Regions from separate parts of the Homo sapiens genome. Here region 2 is linked to region 1. Evidence: promoter capture Hi-C in 16 types of primary human blood cells and fetal thymus (Javierre and others, 2016). All regions are on one chromosome and are shown on one strand. The core of a region is centred on a gene start or on the middle of the fragment in contact, and the rest is flanking DNA. Distances in the headings are between cores, read along the strand shown.

Region 1 (6,688 bases), core at 4,189-6,688:
TGGGCAACAAGAACGAAACTTTGTCTTAAAACAAACGAACAAACAAAAAACGAGTGTTTCTACACTTTACTGGGTCCTGACTTCCCTGTAAAGTTTATCTGGCATCAGGAAAGCTTCCTAAGTAGACTTGGGTCCTCTCACGTTCTCTCTGTCTGCATTTTTTTTTTTTTTTTGAGACGGAGTCTCGCTCTGTCGGAGCACTTTCGGCTCACTGCAAGCTCCGCCTCCTGGGTTCACACCATTCTCCTGCCTCGGCCTCCAGGTGGGACTACAGGCGCCCGCCACCATGCCAGGCTAATTTTTTTTTTTTTTTTTGTATTTTTAGTAGAGACGGGGTTTCACCGTGTTAGCCAGGATGGTCTCGATCTCCTGACCTTGTGATCCACCCGCCTCGGCCTCCCAACGTGCTGGGATTACAGGCGTGAGCCACCGCGCCTGGCCCTCTCTGTCTGCTTTCTACCGAGGGAAAACATTAGCTACAGAAGAGCGCATGACCAAAACTTGTTTGCCTTGTCTGTTTTTCCTTCTGATTTAGGTTTCGTTGTCAACTGCCAAAGCCGAGGCGAGGGTGTGTCCATGGTGATGACCTTCTGGTACAGCAGCTCTTGTCCCCATCACACACCCCTTGGCCTGCAGATTCTGCGTCAGCGGCACTATTTGCAGGACAACCCGCCAAAATTTTGTGCTGCTTGCTGTTTTTTGATCTGTAAACCTGAGTCTCAGCCAGTCAGGTTGACACAGAGGAGACTGGGCCAGTGATCTCAAAGCAGCTGTCTTGTTGCTTTGCAGTGGCTTCCTAGGCCAAAGTCCTACCTACGAGAAAGATGAGTCCCCTTGTAGACAGACGGGTGAGGGACATGAACAGACAATTCACAAAATGGGAAGAGCAAAGAAACATGAAACATGACCACCCTCGCTAAAATAGAGGGGACAGAGTTAACAGAAATAACAGCAGCACTTGGATACCATTTTTCCTCCATCAATCAGTTTGGCAAAGATTTTTTTAAGAAAATAATTCCCAGGGTTTGCAGACAATTACTGATAGAAAGGTAAATGGCCTTTTTTAAAGCAATGTGGCTGTGTGTATAAAAAACTGTAAGAATGTTCATTCTGGAATAGCATATGCCAGAAAGAGAGTCAAGAAGATACAGGAATTTAGTACAAAGTGACATTTTAAGTAAGGAAGAAGACAGATTTCCTTTTCTGGCTGTATTGAGGACAGGATAACCTAGAAAATCTTCCATTACAAAAATATTTAGACATACTTGATAAAATATAACAAAATGCCTGAGCTCCCAAGATAAAAAGGGAAGACCCCAGGGGTCACAACCTATAAGGGAATAATCTAAGTCTCCTGGTTTAATGTCCAGTTGGAGACAGGACACCAATCTTACAGGCTGTGTAAATGTGGGAGGGGGAGTTGGATCCGTGTCTCCTTGAAAATCTGAACCTTGAGGCCAGGTGCAGTGGCTCACGCCTGTAATCCCAGCACTTTGGGAGGCCGAGGCGGGAGGATCACTTGATGTCAGGAGTTCAAGACCAGCCTGGCCAATATGGTGAAACCCCGTCTCTACTAAAAATACAAAAATTAGCCGGATGTGGTAGTGTGTGCCTGTAGTCCCAGCTACTCGGGAGGCTGAGGCAGGAGAATGGCATGAACCCGGGAGGCGGAGGTTGCCGTGAACTGAGATAGCGTCGTTGCACTCCAGCTTGGGTGAGGAGGGTGAGACTCCGTCTCAAAAAAAAGAAAAGAAAATCTGAACCTTGAGTGACAGAAATCAGTCATAGTAGCCTTCTCACATTGAGAAAAATCTGATTCTTACTTGATCTCTTTTAAAGACCAGTGGTCTCAACCTCTGACAAAGATTCTCTGATTGACCAGACTTTTGTCAGGCTTCTGGATCTTCTTCTAAGCCCATCTGCACTTCCTTGCAAGATCCAGTTTTAGCAAAGAACCCTGAGTCATTTTGGCAAGATTTCCCACCCTGCATATCTGACCAGGTTCCTCATTCTTTGCCGTCCCCCAGGGAATGTTTGGTCACCATGGCCTGTCTTCAGCAGGATGACACTGACACTGGCCTTCTAGGTCAGTTTAGCAGAATCCCCCTTACTCCTGATGATTCCTCTTACTTTTTCCATCCTTGGCTATAAATCCACACTTGCCATCACCATATTTGGAGTTGAATCCAATTTCTCTTCCCCACTGGAAAATCCATTGCAGTGGGCCGTCTAGCTATTGGAATGGTCCTGAATAAAGTCTGCCTTACCATGCTTTAACAAGTGTTATTGAATAATTTTTTTTAACACCTCTGAGTCTCTGTCCACCTGGAGAACCACTACAGTAACACTCAGTGAGGTACCTGTGTCATCTCTCAAGCACAGTATATTGTCATGACAGGTAGTCTGAACTCCAAGAGGTTGTTCAAATTAAACATATTTGCATTGCTTTCGTCTTTGTATAGTCCGTAATTGAAACTATCCCTCAAATAACAGGATATGCATAAAAGTTCTCTATCAATCATGAATGTACAAGGACATTCGATATGCTTTATTTTTTATTTTATTTATTTATTTATTGAGACAGAGTCTGGCTCTGTCGCCCAGGCTGGAGTGCAGTGGCGCGACCTCAGTTCACTGCAAGCTCCACCTCCCGGATTCATGCCATTCTCCTCCCTCAGCCTCCCGAGTAGCTGGGACTACAGGCACCCGCCACCAGGCTGGGCTAACTTTTGTATTTTTAGCGGAGATGGGGTTTCACGGTGTTAGCCAGGATGGTCTCCATCTCCTGACCTCGTGATCCGCCTGCCTCAGCAACCCCAAAGTGCTGGGATTATAGGCGTGAGCCACCACACCAGGCTATTTATTTTTATTTTTTATTTTTTGAGACGGAGTCTCACTCTGTCGCCCAGACTGGAGTGCAGTGGCACGATCTCGGCTCACCACAACCTCCACCTCCTGGGTTCAAGCGATTCTCCTGCCTCAGCCTCCTGAGTTGCTGGGATTACAGGTGTGCACCACTGTGCCTGGCTAATTGTTGTATTTTTAGTAGAGATGGGGTTTTGCCATGTTGGCCAGGTTGGTCTTGAACTCCTGATCTCAGATGATCTGCCTGCCTTGGCCTCCAAAGTGCTGGGGTTACAGGCATGAGCTGCCACGCCCAGCCCACACATTATTAAGATTTTAAAAAAAGCAAGCTACAGAACAGCCCTGTCCAATAGACAGAATGCAAGCCACATAGTGACTTCAAATTTCCTAATAGAAATATTTTAAGATATAAAAACAAATAGGTGAAATTAATTTTAAGAATGTATTTTATTTTACTCAGCACACCATGTATTTTATTATCATATATTTTATTATATATTTTATTATATATATACGGTGTACTGAGTAAAATAAAATACATTTTATATATATATATACATATATATATATATATATATATTTTTTTTTTTTTTTTTTTCTGAGGCAAGGTCTCATTCTGTCACCCAGGCTGGAGTGCAATGGCATGATCACAGCTCTCTGCAGCCTTGACCTCCTGGGTTCAGGTGATCTTCCTACCTCAGCCTCCCAAGTAGCTGGGACTATAGGCTCATGCCACCATGCCTGGCTAGTTTTTGTATCTTTTTGTATAGACGGGGTTTCACTATGTTGCCCAAGCTGGTCTTGAATTCCTTAGCTCAAGTGATCCATCCACCTTGGCCTCCCGAAAGGCTGGGATTACCAAAGGTGTGAGCCACCATGCCCAGCCCCAAAATATTCTTTAAACATGTAATCATACAAAATTATATGAGATATTAACATTCTTTTTTTATACTAAGTCTTCAAAACCTGATGTGTATTTTACAACACATCTTAATTCAGACCAGTCACATTTCAAGTATTCAACGGCCACTTATGACTAGTAGCTACAATATTAGACAGTGCAACTATAGACCACGTTTACTCTCCATTTTTTTAGCAACTCCCAAACCAGCTTTATACGTATTGTAATAAACATAGAAAACATTTGGAAGGGTACACAAGAAATGACTAAAAATGATTTTTTTATATAAAATGAGAATGCAGGGAGGGAAGGTGATCAGGGTTTAATTCACGTACATCTCTATTTGAATTTATTATATAAGGATATATCATATTTACTAAAAATGTAAAAGAGAAATGCTTATTCTTTGCAACACAGTCCTTGTATAGAAATCTGTCTTAAGGAAATAATCAAATATGTAAACTAACATTTATGACAAGGATGCCCTTGGCCCAAGACGTGAATAATTTTTTCTAGTGTATCCATGCTATAGACGTTACCTGCCATTACTGTATAAGAAAAAACATAGTGTACCTAGGGCTCAGTACTACCCATGGTTTCAGACATCCATAATTTCAGGCATCCACTGGAGGTCTTGGAGTGTGCTCCCTGTGGATAAGGGGGGACTACTGTATTCAACCCCACTGGAGGCTTGACTCCCTGAAAAGTGAATGGAGAAGAACAAACTGATGTGAAAAATCTTTGTCTTCCAACAAATAAACAGACAGGATCTGAGCCCTGGGGAGATCACTGAGGCTTCTCTTAACCCTTCAGTGGGTGGTATTTTCCATCTGCTCACAGGAATGTTGAGATTTTGGCTGTGGACCTTGTGTTTTGCTTAGCAAAGTTGTTTTGTGTGGATCGCACCTGACATTTTAAATTCTTCCAACAACCATAGGAGGTAAATGAAGAATTCATGCACAGTGCAAGGATAAAACTGCACAGGTTTCAGCTGCCTTGGACACCCTGTGCTTTTCAGCTATTTGTTGAATGGAACTTAAGTGCCCAATTTGTTCTGATTGGAGCAAAACTTTGTGGACTGACAAGGATGGGCGTCCAAGATGTAGGAAGTTAAAAAAAAAATGTTGCCAAACAAGGTGTAGAGCACGATCCTATCTGTGTTTTGAAATCTATGAAATTATGTATCTATGCACCTATATGTAATGTATCTATCTCTGAATGGAGGGAAAGAGCCTGACCATTACCACCCTCTACCCCTGGGAGTGAGAATGAAGTGTACAGGGAGCAGGTGCAAGGAAGAATGCTCACTTCTTACTTTATATATTTCTGTACTGTTAAAATTTTAACAGGCTGTTTTGTAAAAAAAATTTAATAAAAGCTATCAACTGTAACCAGAAGTACTTTCTGACAGTAGATGTTCTCAAACCATCTCACCAAGTGCCCAGAAAGAGTTAACACAGGAGAATTCCAGATGTTTGAAGTGAGGACAAATTCCTGCTTTGAGGGTGGGAGGTGGGCTTAGGGATGAGAGGCAATGACGGGGGAGAGGAGGAAAGAAGCTGAGGGGAGAGCTGGCTGCTGAGTTGTCATTCCAACCAATGGCATGAAAGTTTCAAGCCCAACGCCCATTTGTGGAGACTATTTCAGGAGTTAGGATTTGCATCTGAGTTCATTGCCCCTGTAACCTGTCAAAGAAGAGCTAAGGGAGCTTTCGGGGTTGGCTTCTTGGAGGCTGCTTTCTCCTTTACTTGGAAGGTAAAAATCTCAAGCCCAAGCTGATCAGGCAGTGGTGACTGATTGAGCTGTTAATTTTTTTCTTTTTGGTGTATTGATTTCTTTTTCCAGCTAGGGCTGTAACATGCTTATGGGATAAGGTTTTACTTTTACTAACAATGATATTTACATGGAACTTCTAACAAGATGGAGTGGTTCTTCCTGGTCCTCTGCAGATGACAAGAAGCATTAGGTAGATTTTCTTGGATAGGCTCGCATGGAAAGGAAGGAGAACCTATGCTTTGACTGATGAACAATTTTCATCTTATTCCTTCTTGGTTTCACATAGAGCATGGTTAAGCTTTGACAGGAATTGCAGATGCGTGTAGCAAATCCTACTTAAGTAGAATGGGTTCTTGCTTTATTTTCCATCTCAGTAAAAACTCTTAAAACTCCCCCATTCATAGTAAAGCTACTTTACAACAGAAAGTAGAAAAAAAAATAAAGAGAGAGTTTGGAAAGACACTTTTAGTGAAGTCACCCAATGTTTAGGTCCAAATGTAGCTCCTCTGTCCCCCAGCGCTATGTTATCAACATCACAGGGAACTTCTTTCCCCTCGCAGGCTTCGCTAGTGATGGACCCATACATGATTCAGATGAGCAGCAAAGGCAACCTCCCCTCAATTCTGGACGTGCATGTCAACGTTGGTGGGAGAAGCTCTGTGCCGGGAAAAATGAAAGGCAGAAAGGCCAGGTGGTCTGTGAGGCCCTCAGACATGGCCAAGAAAACTTTCAACCCCATCCGAGCCATTGTGGACAACATGAAGGTGAAACCAAATCCAAACAAAACCATGATTTCCCTGTCCATTGGTGAGTTGGGGACACTACTGAGGGGCTGTCATTGTCCTCCTCTACTCTCATGTTCACAGGCTGGTTGGAGAAGATGGCAGTTGGGGGTGAGTCTGAGTACTGAACATGGGAGAATAACCTCTTGGCTCCTTTTGTGTTTTCCTCCCATAAAAAGGGGACCCTACTGTGTTTGGAAACCTGCCTACAGACCCTGAAGTTACCCAGGCAATGAAAGATGCCCTGGACTCGGGCAAATATAATGGCTATGCCCCATCCATCGGTAAGCTCCTCCTGAGACTCCATACCTGGTGACTGCCAAATCTTTAGTGCTCTTATAACAGGACTAAATGTCTAGCAATC
Region 2 (7,177 bases), core at 2,602-5,101, 170 kb after region 1:
CCAGACAACAGGGAGTTGGACTCATGGTTTTGGGGGGCTCACATTGCCCTTAGGGGGCCAGAGTCAAGGGAATCACCTTTTTTTTTTTTTTTTTTTTTTTTTTTTTGCCTTCTGCTGTAGGGCCTGGTTCTGGGCTGGACTTTCCCCATCCTCTTCCTGAAAGCCACCCTTGTTCAATCATGGGGACAAGATACAGTCCAGGAAAGGAGCTAGGGCCCTCCTAAGAGATGATCCCGAATAGGGCCCAGCTGTGGACAGGATGATCTCTTTTCCAGCCGGGCGCCATGGTTCATGCCTGTAATCCCAGCACTTTGGGAGGCCGAGGTGGGAGGATCACTTGAGGTCAGGAGTTCGAGATCAGCCTGGCCAACACAGTGAAACTCCTTCTCTACTAAAAATACAAAAAATTAGCTGGATGTGGTGGTGCATGCCTAGAATCCCAGCTACTTGGGAGGCTGAGGCAGGAGAATCACTTGAGCCTCTGGGAGGTGGAGGTTGCAGTGAGCCAAGATTGCGCCTGGGTGATAGAGTGAGATTCAGTCTCAAAATAAAATAAAAACGCCAAATCCCTTTTCTGTTAGTTGTCAAACACACTAGACATCAGGACACGGTGGTCCTGGCTACATGACTGCCTTGTAACAGTGAGAAATATCCAGAGATGGGATGCATGTTAGAGTTGAATGGGGTTTGTCCCGGGGAGAGAGGGGAACCAAAGGAATAGCAAGAGGGTGGGGAGCTTAGCTTTAAAATAATGTTTTGGCTGGACATGGTGGCTCATGCCTGTAATCCCAGCACTTTGGGAGGCCGAGGTCAGGAGTTTGAAACCAGCCTAGCCAACATAGTGAAACCCCATCTCTACTAAAACTACAAAAATTAGCTGGGCATGGCGGCACATGCTGTAATTCTAGCTACTTGGGAGGCTGAGGTACGAGAATCGCTTGAACCCAGGAGGCAGAGGTTGCAGTGAGCTGAGATCGTGCCACTGCATTCCAGCCTGGGCGATGGAGTGAGACTCAGTCTCAAAAAAAAAAAAAATGTTTTACTCATTTAAAAAATTGGTCTGGTGTACCTACGGCAAATGGGTGGGACTTGCTAAATCTGGTTGGCTGTTGCTTTCTGAAACACAGATTTTAGACTTGAATATATGCATTTGCAAACTCTAAGACATATGCGCCTCTGAACACAGTCTGGGTGAATGCAGTTTGATTGTCACAGGCTTCCGACAGAGTTGCAGGTGTTGTATTGCGTGGTTTTCAACAGCAATCAGACCAAAAGGGTGACTACTAGCATGTGAAAACAGAGGATAAGCTTCCTGGGCTCAAACTCCTGAGCTGGAAGTCAGTTCCAGGCCATAGTGTCCAGCCAGAGGAGGACAGCAAGATCGACTCCTGCGTGACCAGTAGCTCACCTGGTCCAAATGTAGCCTCTTACTATAAAACAAAGGCAGAGAGAGACTGAGGGAACTGGAAAGAGGTTCAATGGAGGAAAAATAAGGCAACCTCAGGGATTCACTTTTACTCTCATTTCATTAAGTTCCAGATATTGGCAGACTGCTGGCCTCCTGAGGAGCACAGGAAGGGGCCTGGCAGACTGGTGATCCTGGTTGGAGATGAAGAGGGGCTGATTAAGAGGAGCTGACTGAGGCTGGGAGGTTTCCTGCCCGGGAGTGGCGAGCCTGTCAGAGCTGCACCTGGGCCTACCTGTACCTAGGAGAGATTCAGGGTATGGTTGGCTTCCCACAAACACCTGGGGCTCGAGGAGTGCGCTGCCTCTGTTCCACACCTGATGTGATCCACATCCACGCCCATGCACCTGGCCAGGAGAGTGACTGTCACTGATGAGGCAGTGTGATAGTACCTCTGATGGTTTCTCTGAGATCAGCCTTTGCACTTCACCTGTGTGGGCCAGATGGAAAGCCAGGGTGGAGACGGAGCACCCTGGGTCAGCTGGGATCCCACCGTGCGATTCCACGGCATGGGGTGTCAGAACCTGGAGTGCCGGTGGTGGCCAGAGCAGGGGTGGGGTGGCATTCCTGTGTCTCTGCCACTCACTGGCTGTGTCACCACAGAAAAGTCATCTAAACCTCTCGGTGCCCCAGTCTTGTTCTCTGTCCATGGCAATTCGGGTAGACCTGACCCGGTTGGATGGCTCTGAGGTTTCAATGAGGTATCATACATGCAAATGGTTTTTTTGGAGCCAGGTTCTTTTTATTTAAAAAGATTTTTTAAAATGGGAATACTCGCTAAAAAGAGTACCTGACCTCAGCTGGGCACAATGGCTCACACCTGTAATCCCAGCACTTTGGGAGGCCAAGGCGGGTGGATCACGAGGTCAGGAGATGGAGACCTGTAGTCCCAGCTACTCGGGAGGCTGAAGCAGGAGAATCGCTTGAACCCAGGAGGTGAGATTGCAGTGAGCTGAGATCACGCCACCGCTCTCCAGCCTGAGTGACAGAGCGAGACAAAAAAAAAAGAAAAAGGAAAAGAACCTGACTTCAGTATCTTTGGGTGTCTGGGATTGAGGAGTGTTCCTGAATGGGCATCAGGGATTGATGAACACTTGTGTAAGAGTTAAAGAAAGAGGAAAAAAACATGAAATTTTTAAAGACAGGTTTACTTTAGATAAAACCTGGAGGGGCTTCTGGCCGATTTTGGTCAGGGGCGCTTTCTGTTACAGACTAAAAGTATATATTGGTTTTAGGGTGAGGGTCTTATCACAAGCTTGGAATGTTTTTGGGTCAGGGAGAAGTCTATAGCCGGGTCGGAATGTTTCTGGGCAGAGAGGAGGTTATCTTGGGGCTGACGTCTTTCCGGCAGGAGGGAGGTTAGTTATCTTGGGGCTGGCATCTTCCCAGCCAGAGGGGGGTTATCTTGGGGCTAGCATGTCTCTGGTTGGGGAGGAGTTTGGAATGTTTCTGGTCGGAGATGTTATTTGTAGTTTCTGGTCATGCCGACCTTAGCCATTAGGCTGATGCCTTTTGGCTTTAGGCGGTTTTTGATTAAGATGAATTTTAAAATAAGGTGCTTGTCCACAATGGCAAGGCCCCTGCTCTGTCACCTTGCCCCCCAAAATTGCAAAGCTTTGTTTCTGTGTATGCATGTATAAATATTTTTTTTTCCCTTAGGAGCAAAGGCAATAGCTTAACTAAGATGTTCAGAGGGATCATGACATAAAGACTGGATGCCTGGGGTTGGGGTCAGGGGCGTGTTTCAGGTGCCTTTATTTTATACCAGAGTTTCCCAACCTGGGGAATCTTGCCATGTGGGGCCAAATCATTCCTTGTTGTTGTGGACTGACTTGTGCATTGCAGGGTGATTAGCAGCATCTCTGGCTCTACCCACTAGATACCAGTAGCACCCTCCACCCCATCCCCACCTCGTTTCACCAATAAAAAATGTCTTCAGACATTGCTCAATGTCTTTGGGGAGGTGAGAGTGGGACAAAATTGCCCCCAACTGAGAACTGCTGCTTTGTGATGTTCCTAGTGGAGTTGAGCCCTCGATAAGTGGTTGTTATTTGCTGTGTTGAAGTTTGGCAAGATTTCTCTTCTGGGCTTTATTGATCTCTTCCTATTTCTGTGCACTGCTTAAAGGGAAAGTCGACGACTACAGGGCTTCCAAACTGCAGCCCCATTGGATATAAAGTACGAGTTCCTTAATCTGGTAGGGCAGCCTGATCAACTGGAACTTGGTTCTTACTGTGTTTCTCGTTATGCAAACCTTAAGGATTCCAGCCTGGACAACATAGTGAGACCCTGTCTCTACAAAAAAAAAAAAAAAAAAAAGAGAGGAAAAAAAAAAAGAAACGAAATTCAGCAGAGCCCAGTGGCATGCCCCTGTAGTCTCAGCTATGCAGGAAGCTGAGGTGGGAGGATCACTTGAGCCCAGGAGTTCAAGGTTGCAGTGAGCTATAATTGTGCCACTGCACTCCAGCCTGGGTGACAGAGTGAGATCCTGTCTCTAAACAAACAAACAAACAAACACCCTAAAGGTTTTTGAGAGCATTAAGTGCAACATAAACCTTTCAGTCCTTTACTATTAAAATATGAGCTACAATTAAAATGAAACAGTTAATTTTGTGGGGAGCAAGATCTTGAGATAATCTTCATTTGTGGTGAATACATTTCTGTTTAACCACAAGCCTCAGAATTAGTAGTTCCTCATTCAGAGGAAAGATCAGAGAAGGGTCTTATGGAGAAGGACCAGCAGGAGACAGAGGTGGAAGAGTTGGATGCATTTGAAGTCTCCACTATTTAGGAGGTGGCCTAAAAGATCCTGGGGAGTGGGTGGGCACCTCCTTTTGGCACCCCGGATGTGAGGAGGGTCTCCAACACTGATTTTGGCTGCTGCTTTGTTGCACCATCCTCTATGGATGGTTCGGCTCTTCTCTTGTTTGGCTTCTTATACACCTGCTCTAAAATCTCCCCAGGAATTCCATACAATTCACAGAAGTGTTGCTGCTCTGGAGTGAGAAATGTTCCTCCAGATTTTGGAGAAACTTTCTTTCTGAATGTCTCCAGAGCTTGCTTCGGAGCAGCCCTTCAGTCACAAGTTTAGCAGCATAATAATTCCTCCTTGCTGAGGTTGTCCCAGGAATGACACAGAGCACCAGAAGCAAGCTTTGGAAACACAGCTGGTACAACAAGGAGCGCCTCTATGCCTTGGCGTAGAGAAGCAGGTTCTAGTTTTGCCCTGAGTTGGTTGATGGCCCCAGGTATCACATGGAATATCTTTCTATTACAAGAATCAGCATGGAGTTGAGCTCTAGGACAAACGTCTCAATGGTGTTGGGCATGGCCATTGGAGCCTCCTTTCTGATCATGTAGACCTGGGCCATCATTTGTGCAGCTGGTCCTGTGAACTCGGTGCTTAAGATTCCAATTAGCACCTTGCGATAGCATGGTTGTGCCACAGAAAAAGGTAACATAGGTGGAGATGTCCAGAATTGGGCGAGGTGTGTGCACCGTAGAAATGCTGCTGGCTGTTTTCAAGGCATTGAAGAAGCTCTCTGCAGAGGTGGCTATTATCCCCGGACTCTCTAAATAATGATACTAGAATGTCGGTTGCAGCATGATGAGACCAAATCAGTGTGGAAAGTCATCACCGTTTCAGATATTCTGGTTTCCTGTGAGTGTTGTGGTCACAGTGCTGGGGTTTCAGATTTGGAGTCAATTGCAAACACGCCTCCAAGGATACCTCTCTTAAAGCCAGGCACGCTGCACAGAGGATTGTGGTGCAGATTATCCTAGCAGTGTTGAGTCCTCTCATTTGCTATGTATACAGACAGCATAGCCAATGTTGAAGCACGTCCAGCCTCCAGCCTCCACAGATGGGACCCCAGTCTCCTGAATCTAACTCAGGAGAACCAGGGAGGGAGGCTGAGGAGCTGTTGATTGGGCTGACACTGGATTCGCCATCATTTTGGGAACCGGGTTGGTTCCTCTTTGATACTTTGACACGGTACCTTTTGTGTACTTACCTGCAGAAGTGAAGGTTGCAGCAAAGCACAGATGCAAGGTCAGGAGAGACCCCAGGTGAGCCCTGGGACAAAGTGGAGGGGCTTCCCCAGCAGGCGCAGTCCCCAGTTGAGGTTGAGCTCCCCAGTGAGGGATGAGGACTTTGTGGCTTGGCTCGTGATTGGTGGTGGGAGGAAATAGTTTGGTGGCAGTCTTTTACAGTGGTCAAAAAGATTTTTTTTTTAATCTCAAACCTCAGATTATTGTCTGCATATACCTGCTCAGGCAAAAGGAAGTCCTTATTTAGGGAAAGCACAGATTGTGTTTTTTTCAAGAAGGTTTAAGAAGAACCCTAAGTGGGAAGAAGAAGAGGCTTAGGAATTCCTCCTGGTGGGTGGTGGTCTCCCTTGTCATGGTGTGATCATGGAAATCATGGAAACCATGGGCAGCCTCTGATGCCCAGCTCTTTAGAGGAGAAGGGTCTCTTGTATGTATTGGTGGGGCCTCAGCTGTATCTAATAGGAGGTAGGTACTGCACTGGAGGCCTCAGATGGCCCTAGGAACTAGTCTTGAGGCCTCCAGTCTACACTGGGCCCCTTCAGCAAAAAGAGAAAGACCTCACAGGTTGGCTGTTGGTGGTGGGAGGAAGACCTCACCCATGTGGGTGTAGGGCCAGAACTCTGGTGGTCGAGGGTATCTTCTGGGAAGTCTCTGATGACTGTTACTTCTCAGGGCTGTTTGGAGGGACACAGTTGGTTGAAGAGTCTCTCTTCCTTTGTGTATTTGCCCAGAAATGTGTCTCAAGTGACTCTGTGGCAAGAGCTCTTTTTTTTTTTGTTTTTTTTTTTTGTTTTTTTTTTTGAGACGGAGTCTCGCTCTGTCGCCCAGGCTGGAGTGCAGTGGCGGGATCTCGGCTCACTGCAAGCTCCGCCTCCCAGGTTCACGCCATTCTCCTGCCTCAGCCTCCCAAGTAGCTGGGACTACAGGCGCCTGCCACTACGCCCGGCTAATTTTTTGTATTTTTAGTAGAGACGGGGTTTCACCGTTTTAGCCGGGATGGTCTCGATCTCCTGACCTCGTGATCCGCCCGCCTCGGCCTCCCAAAGTGCTGGGATTACAGGCGTGAGCCACTGCGCCCGGCTGGCAAGAGCTCTTTTAACACCCTGTGCCATGAAAAGGGGTTTGTGGTGTTCTTGTTCAGAATGCAACTTGGAATTGTGTCAGGCCTTTCTTGTATTTCTCACTTTTTATCCAGGTCTTGGATTTTCTGTTTGTTTGCTTTAGATTCTTCAAGCAGCCTCTGCTCTTGCCCCTTGCTGATCAGGTGTCTGTCCACCAGTGGGACGTTTTGCCAGTGACCTTCTTGGAGGCCTGTGAGGGTGTACTTTCATTATCCAGATGAGCATTGATTTGATGCAGGGAGCACTCAGCCTCCTTTGCTGCGATACTTACACGGTCACTCCTGCCCGGCTGACCCATCCTCTCACTCGGGCCTGGAAGGCCGCATTGTTTTCAAACCTCCCTCTTTCTTCCTGACTTTGTTTGCATTGCAGAACCATGACTTGCTGTAGACGGCGTCCTGAAGGCTTGTGTGAGGTTCCTCTTGAATTTTCAGGAGAGCGTTGGCTGTACCTGGGCCTCCCTTGTTCTCCCGGCTGTGGCTCAGTGACACCTCTTCTTTCCATCTGGAAGGGAAGAGGACTGCCTCTTTTAAACCACGGT

What was found. The method cuts DNA at HindIII sites, captures the fragments that hold promoters and counts their contacts. A CHiCAGO score of 5 or more calls a contact.
Region 2: a contact is called between a fragment that was not itself captured here and the fragment with the promoter of TAT in region 1, in 2 of 17 cell types (naive B cells and total B cells). The highest score is 6.1, in naive B cells.

Annotation. Positions count from the first base shown.
Region 1 is chr16:71,575,842-71,582,529 of GRCh38, reverse strand. TAT (tyrosine aminotransferase) reads left to right here and starts at 5,438. Exons shown (of 12, transcript NM_000353.3): 1 at 5,438-5,521; 2 at 6,103-6,349; 3 at 6,504-6,608. The coding sequence starts at 6,115. The HindIII fragment of the contact is 5,727 bases long and covers 116-5,842 here.
Region 2 is chr16:71,404,891-71,412,067 of GRCh38, reverse strand. LINC02136 (long intergenic non-protein coding RNA 2136) reads left to right here. Exons shown (of 3, transcript NR_146574.1): 3 at 1,534-1,627. Among named protein-coding and RNA genes, the nearest start is that of LINC02136, 18 kb to the left of the region's middle. RefSeq lists an enhancer at 1-46. The HindIII fragment of the contact is 1,539 bases long and covers 3,082-4,620 here.